Regions from separate parts of the Homo sapiens genome. Here region 2 is linked to region 1. The links are contacts of gene promoters, found by promoter capture Hi-C in human tissues and cell types (Jung and others, 2019). All regions are on one chromosome and are shown on one strand. The core of a region is centred on a gene start or on the middle of the fragment in contact, and the rest is flanking DNA. Distances in the headings are between cores, read along the strand shown. Region 1 holds the start of COG8 (component of oligomeric golgi complex 8). Region 2 overlaps WWP2 (WW domain containing E3 ubiquitin protein ligase 2).

The links. The method cuts DNA at HindIII sites, captures the fragments that hold promoters and counts their contacts. A contact is called where the count stands out against the background at its distance.
Region 2: a fragment that was not itself captured here is called in contact with the fragment with the promoter of COG8 in region 1 in 2 of the 25 tissues and cell types used here (dorsolateral prefrontal cortex and lymphoblastoid cells).

Annotation. Positions count from the first base shown.
Region 1 is chr16:69,333,841-69,340,821 of GRCh38, reverse strand. COG8 (component of oligomeric golgi complex 8) reads left to right here and starts at 1,258. Exons shown (of 6, transcript NM_032382.5): 1 at 1,258-1,646; 2 at 4,110-4,317; 3 at 5,474-6,301. The coding sequence starts at 1,270. NIP7 (nucleolar pre-rRNA processing protein NIP7) reads right to left here and starts at 1,050. Exons shown (of 5, transcript NM_016101.5): 1 at 937-1,050; 2 at 730-816; 3 at 490-628. The coding sequence starts at 992. RefSeq lists enhancers at 672-751, 932-1,051 and silencers at 1,472-1,521, 1,532-1,581. The HindIII fragment of the contact is 18,932 bases long and covers 1-4,684 here.
Region 2 is chr16:69,854,921-69,861,203 of GRCh38, reverse strand. The region is part of intron 6 of WWP2 (WW domain containing E3 ubiquitin protein ligase 2); the gene reads right to left. Among named protein-coding and RNA genes, the nearest start is that of MIR140, 75 kb to the left of the region's middle. The HindIII fragment of the contact is 7,416 bases long and covers 1-5,004 here.

The DNA of each region.
Region 1 (6,981 bases), core at 9-2,508:
CACTGGAAACTGGAAAGTGGAGGCTGCAGTGAGATCGCACCACTGCACTCTAGCCTGGGCGACAGAGTGAAACTGTGTCAGGAAGAAAGAGAAAGAGAAATGAAAAGAAAAAACAGAGCAAGAAAGAAAAAGAAAAAAATAGAAAAAGTTATTTTCTCAACTCTACAAGGATCATCCTCCATGGCCAGGTTAACAGCTCTTTTTCTGGACCCCGGTGTCTTCATTGCTGCCACTTATTTGCTTTCTGATCTCTAGCTGGGTCTCCCTAGGCTCTTCTACTTCGCTGGAGAAAACTAACCCTACGCAGCCACATAGCATTCCTATCCCATAGCCCTGACCATGCTCAAGCTGCAAGACCTCTACACATCTCCATGTGCTGAAACTCCTCCAAGCACACTGTCAGGGACTCTGTGGGAGAGAAGCTGCCGGACAATCTGCCTAATCCTTGACTTCATCGCCCGTGGCAGAATTGGAAACCGCCCCACAAACCTTGGCATAAGGTGCAAGGTAATCCAGAGCTGTGACGTGCAACCGAAACTTGTGGGTTTTAGTGAATTTTCCAAAGCAGGTCCCCAGCGACACCAGCTTGTCCCCGGAAATATTGGCGGCCAGCTTCATAATCTTCTCACTAAAAGGGTAAAGGGGGAGCAAGGTTGCGGATGAAGGAGGCTCGTGGGACCCAGGACCCCTCTCCCCTGGGTCCATGCTGCCTGCCCGGCCCCGCCTCACCTCACATAGTACACCCGGTCGTTGTGCAGACGGAAACAGTAGGTGCCATCGGGCCGGTCCACCAGCAGTTGAAGATTCTCCCCAATGCTGAGGGCAAAAAGAGGACTGGAGACCGCGCCCGAACGAACCGGTCTCCGGCACCGCGCCCCCACTCCACCCTTGGCCACCACACCCACACACTCCCGCGTCCGCCCCGCGCGCTCCTACTATTTCGCTATCTTCTCAAACATGACACGGGTCTCCTCTTCAGTCAAAGGCCGCATTTTTCCCCCTGGGTTGGAACACCGGATCCTCGTGCCTTGGTAACTGGAAACGGAAGTCGGTCGCTCGCTGCTCCCCGGCAATCCCAAAGCCTTCCTCTCTAGCCCCGTACCAATAGTTCGTCTCGCTAGCGCCCAATAGTCTGGACGACCGCAGGGGAAAGCAAGCCGGCCGGATGAGAAAGCATAGAGACCGGAAATGTGCCTGTTTCTTCCTGTCCTAAGTTCGGAGTCAGCGCCCCTTGTGGTCCGGAAGGGAAGTGACGTTGTTGCTGGGAAGATGGCGACCGCGGCGACTATCCCATCGGTAGCCACGGCCACAGCAGCGGCTCTCGGCGAGGTGGAGGATGAAGGGCTCCTGGCGTCGCTGTTCCGGGACCGCTTCCCCGAGGCCCAGTGGCGCGAGCGGCCCGATGTGGGCCGCTACCTCCGGGAGTTGAGCGGCTCGGGGCTGGAGCGGCTGCGGCGCGAGCCCGAGCGCCTGGCGGAGGAGCGGGCGCAGCTGCTGCAGCAGACGCGCGACTTGGCCTTCGCTAACTACAAGACCTTCATCCGCGGCGCCGAGTGCACCGAGCGCATCCACCGCCTGTTTGGCGACGTGGAGGCGTCGCTCGGCCGCCTGCTCGACCGTTTGCCCAGCTTCCAGCAGAGCTGCAGGTGCGACGCGCCTGGCGCTAAAGGGGTTTTATAACTGTAAAAGCTGACATTTACGATGGTAGAAATAACTAACACATAAAGCGTTTACCACGTTCCAGGTTCTCTGCTGAGCGCTTTATTAATCCATTTAAACCTCACAACAGCCTTCGAGATAGGTACTGTTATTCCTTTTTTATCTTTTTTGAGACGGAGTCTCGCCCTGTCGCCAGGCTGGAGTGCAGTGGCGAGATCTCGGCTCGCTGCAACCTACCTCTGCCTCCTGGGTTCAAGCGATTCTCCTGCCTCAGCCTCCTGAGTAGCAGGGACCATAGGCGCGCGCCACCACGCCCAGCTAATTTTTTTGGATTTTTAGTAGAGACGGGGTTTCAGCATGTTGGCTGGGATGGTCTCGATCTTTTGATGTCGTGATCTGTCCGCCTCGGCCTCCCAAAGCGCTGGGATTACAGGCATAATCCACTGCGCCCAGCCCTGTTATTTCCATTTTACATATGAGCAAGTCAAGACAGAGATTAGTGACGTCCAAGGACACAGCTAGGAGGTTTCGAATTCAGAACTGGTTACCCAGAAGCACGTCCCTCCCTCGAAGGGCAGTTGTGGGCACAAAGAAAAAGGATTCATGCAAAGCTCTTATTATCGGGTCTGACACAGTTAACATTATAGGTGTGAGCTGAATATATGTGCACATTTATATACTTATTTTATACGAAAGCGTGGACCGGAGGTCATCTGCTTCAAAACTTCCATTGACGGGAAGGTGACAAGGAAATCCTCGCATTTGAGGGCATCAGATATCAAAAAGTCTCTCCATTTGGATGGCTGGATGTGGTGGCTCAGCCTGTAATCCCAGCACTTTGGGAGCCTGAGGCTTGAACCCAGGAGTTCGAGAGCAGCCTGGCCAACATGGCAAAACCCTGTCTCTATAAAATAAAAAATTAGCTGGTCGTGGTGGCGTGCGCCTGTAGTCCCAGGTACACAGGAGGTTGAGGTGGGGGGGTCAGTTGGGCCCGGGAGATTGAGGCTGCAGTGAGCCATGATTGTGCCACCGCACTCCAGTTTGGGAGGTCGAGGCTGCGGTGGGCTGTGATTGTGCCACTGCATTCCAGACTGGGTGACAAAGTGAAACTCTCTTAAAAAAAGAAAAAAAGGCTGGGTGCGGTGGCTCACACCTGTAATCCCAGCACTTTGAGAGGCCAAGGCAGGCGGATCACGAGGTCAAGAGATCGAGGCCATCCTGGCTAACATGCTGAAACCCCCATGTCTACTAAAAATACAATTAGCTGGGCGTGGTGGCACGCGCTTGTAGTCCCAGCTACTCGGGAGGCTGAGGCAGGAGAATTACTTGAACCTGAGAAGCGGAGGTTGCAGTGAGCCAAGATGATGCGTGCCACTGCACTCCAGCCTGGTGACAGAGCAAGACTCCGTCTCAAAAAAAAAAAAAAAAGTCCTTTGTGAGTCATATTCTGTCTCCATTATCCCTAGTTCTGCCTTCCAGCCTTTCATGATTAAAGTTTAATTTTTCTTTTGAGCCTTTGGATATTTGACAGCAGCTTTTGTACCCTTCCATGCTCCAGAATAGATAGGGGACTTGATAAAGCAGGTCTCTGCAAATATGGAGAAGTGTTGAAAGTAGACTGTGGCAGGAACTATGGTTGAACATTAGCATAGGAGAAGATGAAGACCTGAGGGGAAAGATTGTGGATTCTAGGCAGTTAGTGCTTCATTTTGAAAATAATGATAGCTACTGTTAAATATTTAACTGTGTCTCTTTTACTATTTTTACTTTGACGCATTCGCTCTGTTTCAAGTTCTATGTTAAATGCTTCACACACATCATCTCATTTAGTTCTTACACCCTTATGAGGAGGGTCCTATATACTTTTTTTTTTTTTTTTTTTGAGACGGAGTCTTGCTTTGTTGGCCAGGCTGCAGTGCAGTGGCGCCATCTCTGCTCACCGCAACCTCCACCTCCTGGGTTCAAGTGATTCTCCTGCCTCAGCCTCCTGAGTAGCTGGGACTACAGGCGCGCACCACCATGCCTGGCTAATTTTTTGTATTTTTAGTAGAGATGGGGTTTCACTTGAACTCCTGGCCTCAAGTGATCCGCCCACCTCAGCCTCCCAAAGTGCTGGGATTACAGGCGTGAGCCACTGCGCCTGGCCCTATATACCGTTTTACTAATGAGGAAATAGGTTCAGAGAGGCCAAGTACCTTGCCACAGCCAGCAAGTGGCATATCTGGATCTCCATCTGTTAGATTTATTAATTGTATGTTTTTGGACAAGTTGCTTAACCTCTCTGGGATTAAAAATTTCCTCAATTGTAATAATACTTACCTTATAGGTGGGGTGTGAGGAATAAATCAGATAGATCATCCAGCCCAATGTTCATAGCAGGTACTTGGTAACTGTAGCTAAGGTTTGGGTACAGAGCAGTGAAGGATCAACATTCTTCTGATTATTACTAGGAACTTTGTGAAGGAAGCCGAGGAGATCAGCTCCAACCGCCGGATGAATAGCCTGACCCTAAACCGGCACACAGAAATTTTGGAAATACTGGAGATTCCTCAGCTCATGGACACCTGTGTCCGGAACAGTTATTATGAAGAGGCCCTGGAGCTTGCAGCCTACGTACGCCGACTGGAGAGGAAATACTCTTCCATCCCTGTCATCCAGGTAGCCACCTTGCCCAGAGAGGACTCAAAGTAATGTTCTTGTAATCATTTATTCTGTGGTCAGGACTGAAGCTTTAGGTAGAAACTCTTGCATGTTTCACATCAGTTTCTGCCAGCCAGGTATGCCTGAACAGAAAACATTCATTTATTCAAAATACATATTAATCATGTGCCAAGCACTGCTCTATATGCTGGGGATACAGTGTGAATAAAGTGGTCCTGGCTCTCATGCAGCTTACGTGCTAATGGGAAGTCTGATAATTGACAAAGAAATGATATCATTTCAGATAGTGGTGTCTGAAGAAAAAAACAGGGAATGGGGTAAGGGAGTCTAGGGTAGGTTTCTTTAGGTAGGGTGATCAAGAAGGACTCTTCTAGGGAGGTAACATTTAAGCTGAGACCTAAATGAGAAGGAGGTGCCAGCCCACAAAGATCTGGGGAGAGAGCAAACCAGAAAGTGTGAAGAACAAGTAGAGAGGGCTGAAGTGGGCAGAAATTGAGGTGTTTAAGGGATACAGAGGCAGCCAGGGTTAATGGATTGTAGCAGCGGGAGAGCACTAGGAAGCAGGTGAAGATGGAGAGCCAGGTAGGGCCACCAGTGTAAGTCCCAACAAGTGGTTGGAATTTTCTTGATTGCAGTGGGAAGTCACTGGAGGATTTTAAGCTTTTTTTTTTTTCTTTTTTTTTTTTGAGACAGAGTCTCGCTCTGTCCCCCAGGCTGGAGTGCAGTGGTGCGACCTTGGCTCACTGCAACCTTTATCTCCCGGGTTCAAGTGATTCTCCTGCCTCTGCCTCCCGAGTAACCGGGATTACAGGCCTGCACCACCACACCCACCTGATTTTTATATTTTTAGTAGAGACGAGGTTTCACATGTTGGCCAGATTGGTCTCAAACTCCTGACCTCAAGTGACCTGCCTGCCCACGGTGCTGGGATTACAGGTTTGAGCCACTGCACCTGGCCAGGTTTTAAGCTTTTTAAGCAAGAGAGTTAACTAACCTGATCTTTGTTGGTGAACCTACAGGCATCAGCTTTAGGAAATTACTTCACATTTCAGGAAAGCCATGGGAATGTTGGTCTGCAGTCTTCAGAGTTAGGGGAATGGGTTCTAGAGAGCATCCTTCCCAGCGCAGTGTGACTCTCTCTGTGTATTGTCAGGGCATCGTGAACGAAGTGCGCCAGTCCATGCAGCTGATGCTGAGCCAGCTGATCCAGCAACTGAGGACCAACATCCAGCTTCCTGCCTGCCTCCGTGTCATTGGCTACCTGCGGCGCATGGACGTCTTCACTGAGGCTGAGTTGAGGGTGAAGTTTCTTCAGGCCCGAGATGCTTGGCTCCGGTCCATCCTGACTGCCATTCCTAATGATGATCCCTATTTCCATATTACAAAAACCATCGAGGCCTCCCGTGTCCATCTCTTTGATATCATCACCCAGTACCGTGCCATCTTCTCAGACGAGGACCCACTGCTGCCCCCTGCCATGGGTGAGCACACTGTGAATGAGAGTGCCATCTTCCATGGCTGGGTGCTACAGAAGGTCTCACAATTCCTGCAGGTGCTGGAGACCGACCTTTACCGGGGCATAGGCGGCCACCTGGACTCTCTGCTGGGCCAGTGCATGTACTTTGGGCTGTCCTTCAGCCGGGTGGGAGCTGATTTCCGGGGTCAGTTGGCTCCTGTTTTCCAGCGGGTGGCCATCAGCACTTTCCAGAAAGCAATTCAGGAAACAGTGGAGAAATTCCAGGAAGAAATGAACTCCTACATGCTCATCTCGGCTCCAGCCATCCTGGGCACCAGTAACATGCCTGCTGCTGTGCCAGCCACCCAGCCGGGGACGCTGCAGCCACCCATGGTGCTCCTAGATTTCCCACCCCTCGCCTGCTTTCTCAACAATATTCTGGTTGCCTTCAATGATCTGCGCCTCTGCTGCCCTGTGGCCCTGGCGCAGGATGTGACTGGGGCCTTGGAAGATGCCCTTGCCAAGGTGAGCACATTCTGTTGGTTTTCTGCTACCCTGGGCCTTCTCTGGTAATGGGTGGCCAGATTTTTGTAATAAACCCGTCTATTTGACGGTGTCTGCTGACATGGAGAGGTCTAGTGTGGTTTTGGAGGTTCTCCTGATTGAGAAGCTCTGGCCAGTTGCCCTTCATGGGACCTAGGACAGTCCATGAAGTGATTTGCCTATAGTAACAATTCGGTAATACACGTATTAGCTTTCTAGTGCTGCATAACAAATTTCCACAAACTTAGTAGCTTCCAGCAACACATTTATTACCTTCCAGTTTTGGTGGGTCAGGAGTCCAGGCACAGCACAACCGGGTCCTCTCTGCTCAGGGTCTTACAGGGTTGCCATCAAGGTGTTGGCTGGACTATGGCCTCATCTGGAGGTTGGGGCTCCATTTCAGACTCATGCAAGTTGGCAGGGGTCAGTTCTTTGCAATTGCAGAACTGAAGCCTCAGCTCCTAGAGGCTGTCCACTCCATAGGCAGCTGACAACATGGCTGTTTGCTTCCTCAAGGCCAGCAGGAGAGCTACTCTCTTGAGTCTCTTCTTTTAGGTACCTCCTTTTAAAAACTTCATTTGATTAAGTCAGATGATTAGGGACTTTAATTACATCTACAAAACCCTTTACCTTTAGCATATTCTTTTATTTTTATTGTTAAA
Region 2 (6,283 bases), core at 47-2,546, 520 kb before region 1:
TGAGGTACCCTGAACAGAGACAGCAGCCTGTGATTTGTCCTATGACCTGAGATCCCCTGACCCTGAATTATGAGTGCATAGGACACTGTTGCCGCTTAGGAGATGAGCATCCCCATCAACCTCCACTGTGCACAGGAGGAATCTCCATGGGGCTGGCCCCCAAGGAATGCAGAGCACAACCTGTACAGGTGCGCCAGAAAAGCCTCTTCACTTTCTCGCTACTGGCATCATTCCCTGTTTGAATCTGGCCCACTCACTGCCTCCTTTTACTATAGCTCCAGACCAGAAAGGACTACACAGGACCTTGAATGAATGGGGGACTACAGTATATTAGAGTGTTCTTTCTTTCCTTTTTTTTTTTTTAACTAGAGATCGAGTCTTGCTATGTTGTCCTGGCTGGTCTCAAACTCCTGGCCTCAAGCAATCCTCCAGCCTCGGCCTCCCAAAGTGTTGGGATTAGAGGCATGAGCTGGGTAGAGCATTATTTCTAAGTGTTCTGACACGACAAATCACAAGGCAGGAATTCAGCAGGACGGAGGCAGGCTCCAAAAAGAATATGTTCAATGGACATCCCTCAAAATACCTCTCTAGACCCCTACCAAGGGAGAGTCAGACCCTTTGCTGATCTACTTGCCCGGCATTCTCTTCCTGGACTTTCCACCCAGGTGGCCAAATTCCTAGGCCAAATCTCAGTCCAAATGTCCCTCATCTCCCAGGCTACAGTAAATTTCCTTTCATTCTCTCATAACATCCTAATTGTTCCCTTTATGGCACTGCTATGTGTCACTACACATTCATGAGGGCAGAGATCATGTCTTGTTTTGTGAACCTCTGGAGACTCAGCACCTAGTGTGTGCCTGGCCCACAGTAGGATTCAGGAAATATCTGTTGAATGAAGGAAAGATGCAAGCTGTCAGGTTCAAAATCACTCTTGGGCCTGTAACCTCCAGTACTTTGCATATTCTTTCCAATCCAGTCACTCATCACCTCCCCGACTCCTTTAAAGAATGGAATCGGACCACCACGCCTGGCTAATTTTTTTGATTTTTTTTTATAGCGATGGGGGTCTTGAACTCCTAAGGTGAAGTGATCCTCCCACCTCGGCCTCCCAAAGTGCTGGGATTACAGGTCTGAGCCACCATGGCTGGCCCATTAGAGAGAGTCTTTCTACTGTGGGGAGAATTTCTAAAATGACATCCCTCTCACTCTAGCCCCCCTCCAATGCCTAAAACCTGTGAATATGACAAGGTGCCACACCCTTGAGTATGTCGTCAAGTATGTCGTCGTGTACCACAGCAGACCTTAAGAAAGGGGATCATCGGGCGGGGCGGGGGTGGGGGGCGGTGCTCTCTCAGTCTAATTAGCATCACATCACCTCCTGGAAGCAGAGCGCCTTCTCCAGCAGGTGGCAGGAGAGAAAATCAGAGAGATTCAAATCACAGGGAGATCTGACACTCCTTTCCTGGCTCGAAGGTGGAGGGGGCACCGTGAGAAGGAATGCAGGGGTCGGGGCCAGGGGGAAGCTTAAGGAGTTGAGAGGGACCCCCGCTGATGGTCAGCAAGGAATGGGCACCTCAGTCCTACAACTGCAAATAACTAAATTCAGCTAAGGACCTGAATGACTTTTTTTTTCTTTTTCTTTTTTTTTGAGACAGGGTCTCCCTCTGTCGCCCAGGCTGGAGTGCAGTGGTGCAATCACAGCTCACTGCATCCTCGACCTCCCTGGGCTCAAGCGATCCTCCCGCCTCAGCCTCCTGAGTAACCGGGATGACAGGCATGCGCCACCATGCCTAGCTAATTTCTGTATTTTTTTTGTTGAGATGGGGTTTGGCTATGTTGCTTAGGCTGGTCTCAAACTCCTGTACTCAAGCCATCTGCCCACCTCAGCCTGCCAAAGTGCTGGAATTACAGGCGTGAGCCACTGTGCCCAGCCCTGAATGACCTTTGATATGAATTCTTCCCCAGTGTATGCAGATAAGAATGTTGTCCTGCCAGAGCCTTGATTTTGGCCTTGTGAGACCCTGAAGGGAAAAGTCAGCCGTGTGATCCTGGACTTATGACCTACAGAACTGTGAGCTAATAAATGGTGTTGTTTTAAGCCCTGAGTTTGTGGTGATTTGTTACAGAGCAATAGAAAATGAATGCAAATAAATGACAATTCAATTTCCACAGTAGAAGATGGAACTCTCAAATACATGCATGACTAGGGAACAGCCTTGACCCAGTTCTTGCTGGTCTAGTTCAGCAGCCCTCATACAGTTATGGCATCACTCTGTGGGATCCAGTGCCCATGTCGAAGGAGCAGCATTCCAGTGATCCTAATGTCCTCAAGGAGACACTCAATCCTAAGATTCAATAATCACTTGGGAATTTGAACACCTAGTATAAATGAGATATTACCTATTCTTAGAGGGTAAGTAACATTCTTTTCTGGCAGAGTTGAAGTACACGGACTTTACACCTTCTTTTCCCAAACAAGACTTATTTATGTGTCAATTCTTCTCTGATTCCAATACTAACCTTAAAAGCTGCAAGGATTTGAAAAGAACAGTCGGTGAAAAGCATTCAACACAGAAATATCAATCATGAAGAAAAAAACAGATGAAGCCACAGAGACTGTGCAGGCAGTGGGACCCCAGCACACTCTTGGTGGTTCACCTTGCAAGCACAAGGCGGCTGTGATAAAGGGCGCCCCCTCTTCTCTGTGGTCCTCAAATTATCGCATCTCAGGAGTCAAGGCGCCAGGGAACGTAAACCAGCAACATGACCCACCCAGAAGTTTTGGCGAATGAAGAGCAGGAACACGAGACTCTTTCAGCTCAGCAAATATTTATTGAGCTGCTACTACGTGCAGTGAGGCACTATTCTAGGTCCTGCTGGGGACACAAAGATGAATGAGGCACACAGAGCCGTGGCCTGGTGTTTGAGTGAAAGCTTCAGCACCACTTCCCCCAAGCCCCTTCCTCCCCAAAAAAACCACAAACCAGGTGGAAGAAATAACTCCTCGGAAGTCTCCAATTCATCATCCTTTTTCTAAGTGTAAAGAAAAATGTATAACTTTATTTAAAAGAAAACTTTTTTTTTTTACTGGTTCTAAAGGTAAAATTTCAAAGAAAAGGAACAAAACCAACCGGGCCCTAATCTCCCATTCTCCACTACAAAATAATGAGTATCTGCACCACATCCTACTCTAGGTTTTCACTAATTTCATTAAATTTTCTTTGTGTCATTTTGTCGTTATAGAGTTGTACTGTTAGGCCGGATGCGGTAGCTTACGCCTATAATCCCAACACTTTGGGAGGCTGAGGAAAGAGGATCCAAGACCAGACTAGGCAACACAGGAAGACACTGTCACTACAAAAAAAAATTTAAAAATTAGCCAGGCATGGTGGCGCACACCTGTAGTCTCAGCTACCTGGGAGACTGAGGTGGGAAGATCACTTGAGCCTGGGAGGTCGAGGCTGCAGTGAGCTGTGATTGTGCCACTGCACTCCAGCCTGGGTGACAGAGCGAAACCCTGTCTCAAAAAAAAAAAAAAAAAAAAAAAAGAGTTGACCTTCAAAGGCCATTTGAAAACACAAAACACACAAAGTAGACCCAAAATATAGACATGCTGTATATAAAACTCAGCATAAGGCCAAACAGAAAACCTTCAGGCCGGGAGCCAGTCAATGAGCTCTTGCTCTCTTCACACCACTGGATGCAGAATTTCACACTCCATTATCAAATAGTCAGGGAGCCAAAGATACCTTCAACCCATCAAGACTTTTCTTGAAAAGGCAGACCAAACACAGTGGAAAGTGGAAAGTTACGCCAGGCGTGGTGGCTCACACCTGTAATCCCAGCACTTTGGGAGGCCAAGGCAGGTGGATCACGAGGTCAGGAGTTCGAGACCAGCCTGGCCAACAGGTGAAACCCCATCTCTACTAAAAATACAAAAACTAGCTGAGCGTGGTGGAGCGCGCCCAGCTACTCGGGAGGCTGAGGCAGGAGAATCGCTTGAACCCCAGAGGCAGAGGTTGCAATGAGCCGAGATGGCGCCACTGCACTCCAGCCTGAGCGACAGAGTGAGACTCTGTCTCAAAAAAAGTAAAAAAAGTGGAAAGTTAGTCAAAGATGGGAAACAGAAACTGTAGGACAGACAGAAATTAACAAGAGGAAGAAAACAACTCTAAAGATATCAAGAATCACGAGAAACATAAATGAACTGTGACAGTTTAAAATCATATGGTTTTTTAAAACTCTAGTTAAATGCTGTTACAAAAAAACACTACCTAAAATATAAGTACCAAATAGGTTAAAATGAAATGAATAGGGAAAAAAATATGCCAAGTGGACACAAAACAAAAGGAAGCTGGGATAGTTAGGTTAACGTCACACCAAACGGGTTTTGTTGTTGTTGTTGTATTTTTTTTTTATTTTTTATTTTTGAGATAGAGTCTCCCTCTGTCACCCAGGCTGGAGTGCAGTGGCGTGATCTCAGCTCACTGCAACCTCCACCTCCCAAGTTCAAGCAATCCTCCTGCCTCAGCCTCCCGAGTAGCTGAGACTACAGGCACATGCCACCACACCCAGCTAATTTTTGTATTTTTAGTGAGATGTGGTTTCACCATGTTGGCCAGGATGGTCTCGATCTCCCGACCTCGTGATCCACCCACCTCAGTCTCCCACAGTGCTGGGATTACAGGCGTGAGCCACCGCACCTGGCCACCAAATGGGTCTTTTAATGATTTTTAAAATTAAGGTATAATTTACATAGAGTAAAATTTACCCTTTCTAAGGGTACAATTTGGCAAGTTTTACCAAATGTTTATAGTGGTGTTACCATCACCACAACTGAGACATAGAACATTCCCATTGCTCCCAAAATTTCCTTGTGCCCCTTTGCAGTCAATCCCTCCTCCAATGCCCCCACATCTTCAGATTGGATTTCTGTCCCTAGAATTTTGCCTTTTCCAGGATGTTATATAAATGGAATCATATAGAACATAAGCTTCTATGTCTGGCTTCTTAAGCTTAGCCTAATACTTTTAAGAGTCATTCACGTTGTTAAGTTACTTTTTATTTGTCAGACCAAATAAATATACATCTTTTTTAGAGATGGGAGTCTTGTTATGCTGCCCAGGCTAGACTCGAACTCCTGGACTCAAGCAATCCTCCCAGCTCAGCCTCCCCAGTGGCTGGGACTATAGGCACATACCACTGTGCCTGGCTTCAGACCAAATAAATTTTAAGAGAAAAAGCACTAAAAACAAGAATAACAAGATAAGGCCAAAACGTTCTATTCATCCATAAGACATATGTCAAATTGTACTCTAGATCCAATGAAATAACCTCGAAATACATAAAGCAGAAATTCATCAGAATGATCTGGCACCACCCTTTACCAGTGTCATCTCTTCCTATGACTCCACTTCCCCTTCCTCTCCAGTGGGACTGGCCTCTCCACTGTTCCTTCAACTCCAAAGGCACATTCCTAACTTAAGGCCTTTCCAACAGCCATTCTTCTGCCCAAACTCTCTTTCCCCAGATATCCTCATGGTTACATTCCTTGCCTCCTTCAAATCTTTGCTTAAAAGTCACCTTCTCAACAACACCTCTCTTGACTGCCCTATTTAATACTGCAACCGGCTCTTATATGATACATTTATACATATTTTTCGCATGAATCAAACTCATTTTTTAAGTAATAAAAATCAATAAAACCAAGGGAAAAAAGGAACACTCTGGGATTCTGCATTATTATAGAAACCAAGGCACAAAATGTTTCTAGAGAGGACTAGTCCATGATGTTAAACTGGCAGACAGGTCAGGGGGGCTTTGGTGACTGTCATTGCAGCAGAATGATAGAGGCAGAGGGCAGACTGAAGTGAACTAAAAAATACTTAAGAAATAAGGATGGCAGACCCCAAGAATATTGAGACAAATACCTCCACTATATTTTCAATAAGTTAAGGGTGAAGAAAAACTTCATGAAACCCAGTACATGTGAAGCAGAATATAAATTCTAGATTTTAGTTCTGTTACTATTTTTATCTAAAACAAAATGAAAAGCCGGCTGGGGCTCAGCGGCTCATGCCTGTAATCCCAGCACTTTGGAAGGCCAAGGCTGGTGGATCGCTTGAGTTCAGAGTTCAAGACCAGCCTGGGGAGACCTTATCTCTACAAAAAATTTTAAAAATTAGCCTACTGTGGTGGTGCACACCTGTAGTCCCAGCTATTTGGGAGGCTGAGGCAAGAGGATCACTTGAGCCTTGGAGGTTGAGGCTGCAGTGGGCCTTGA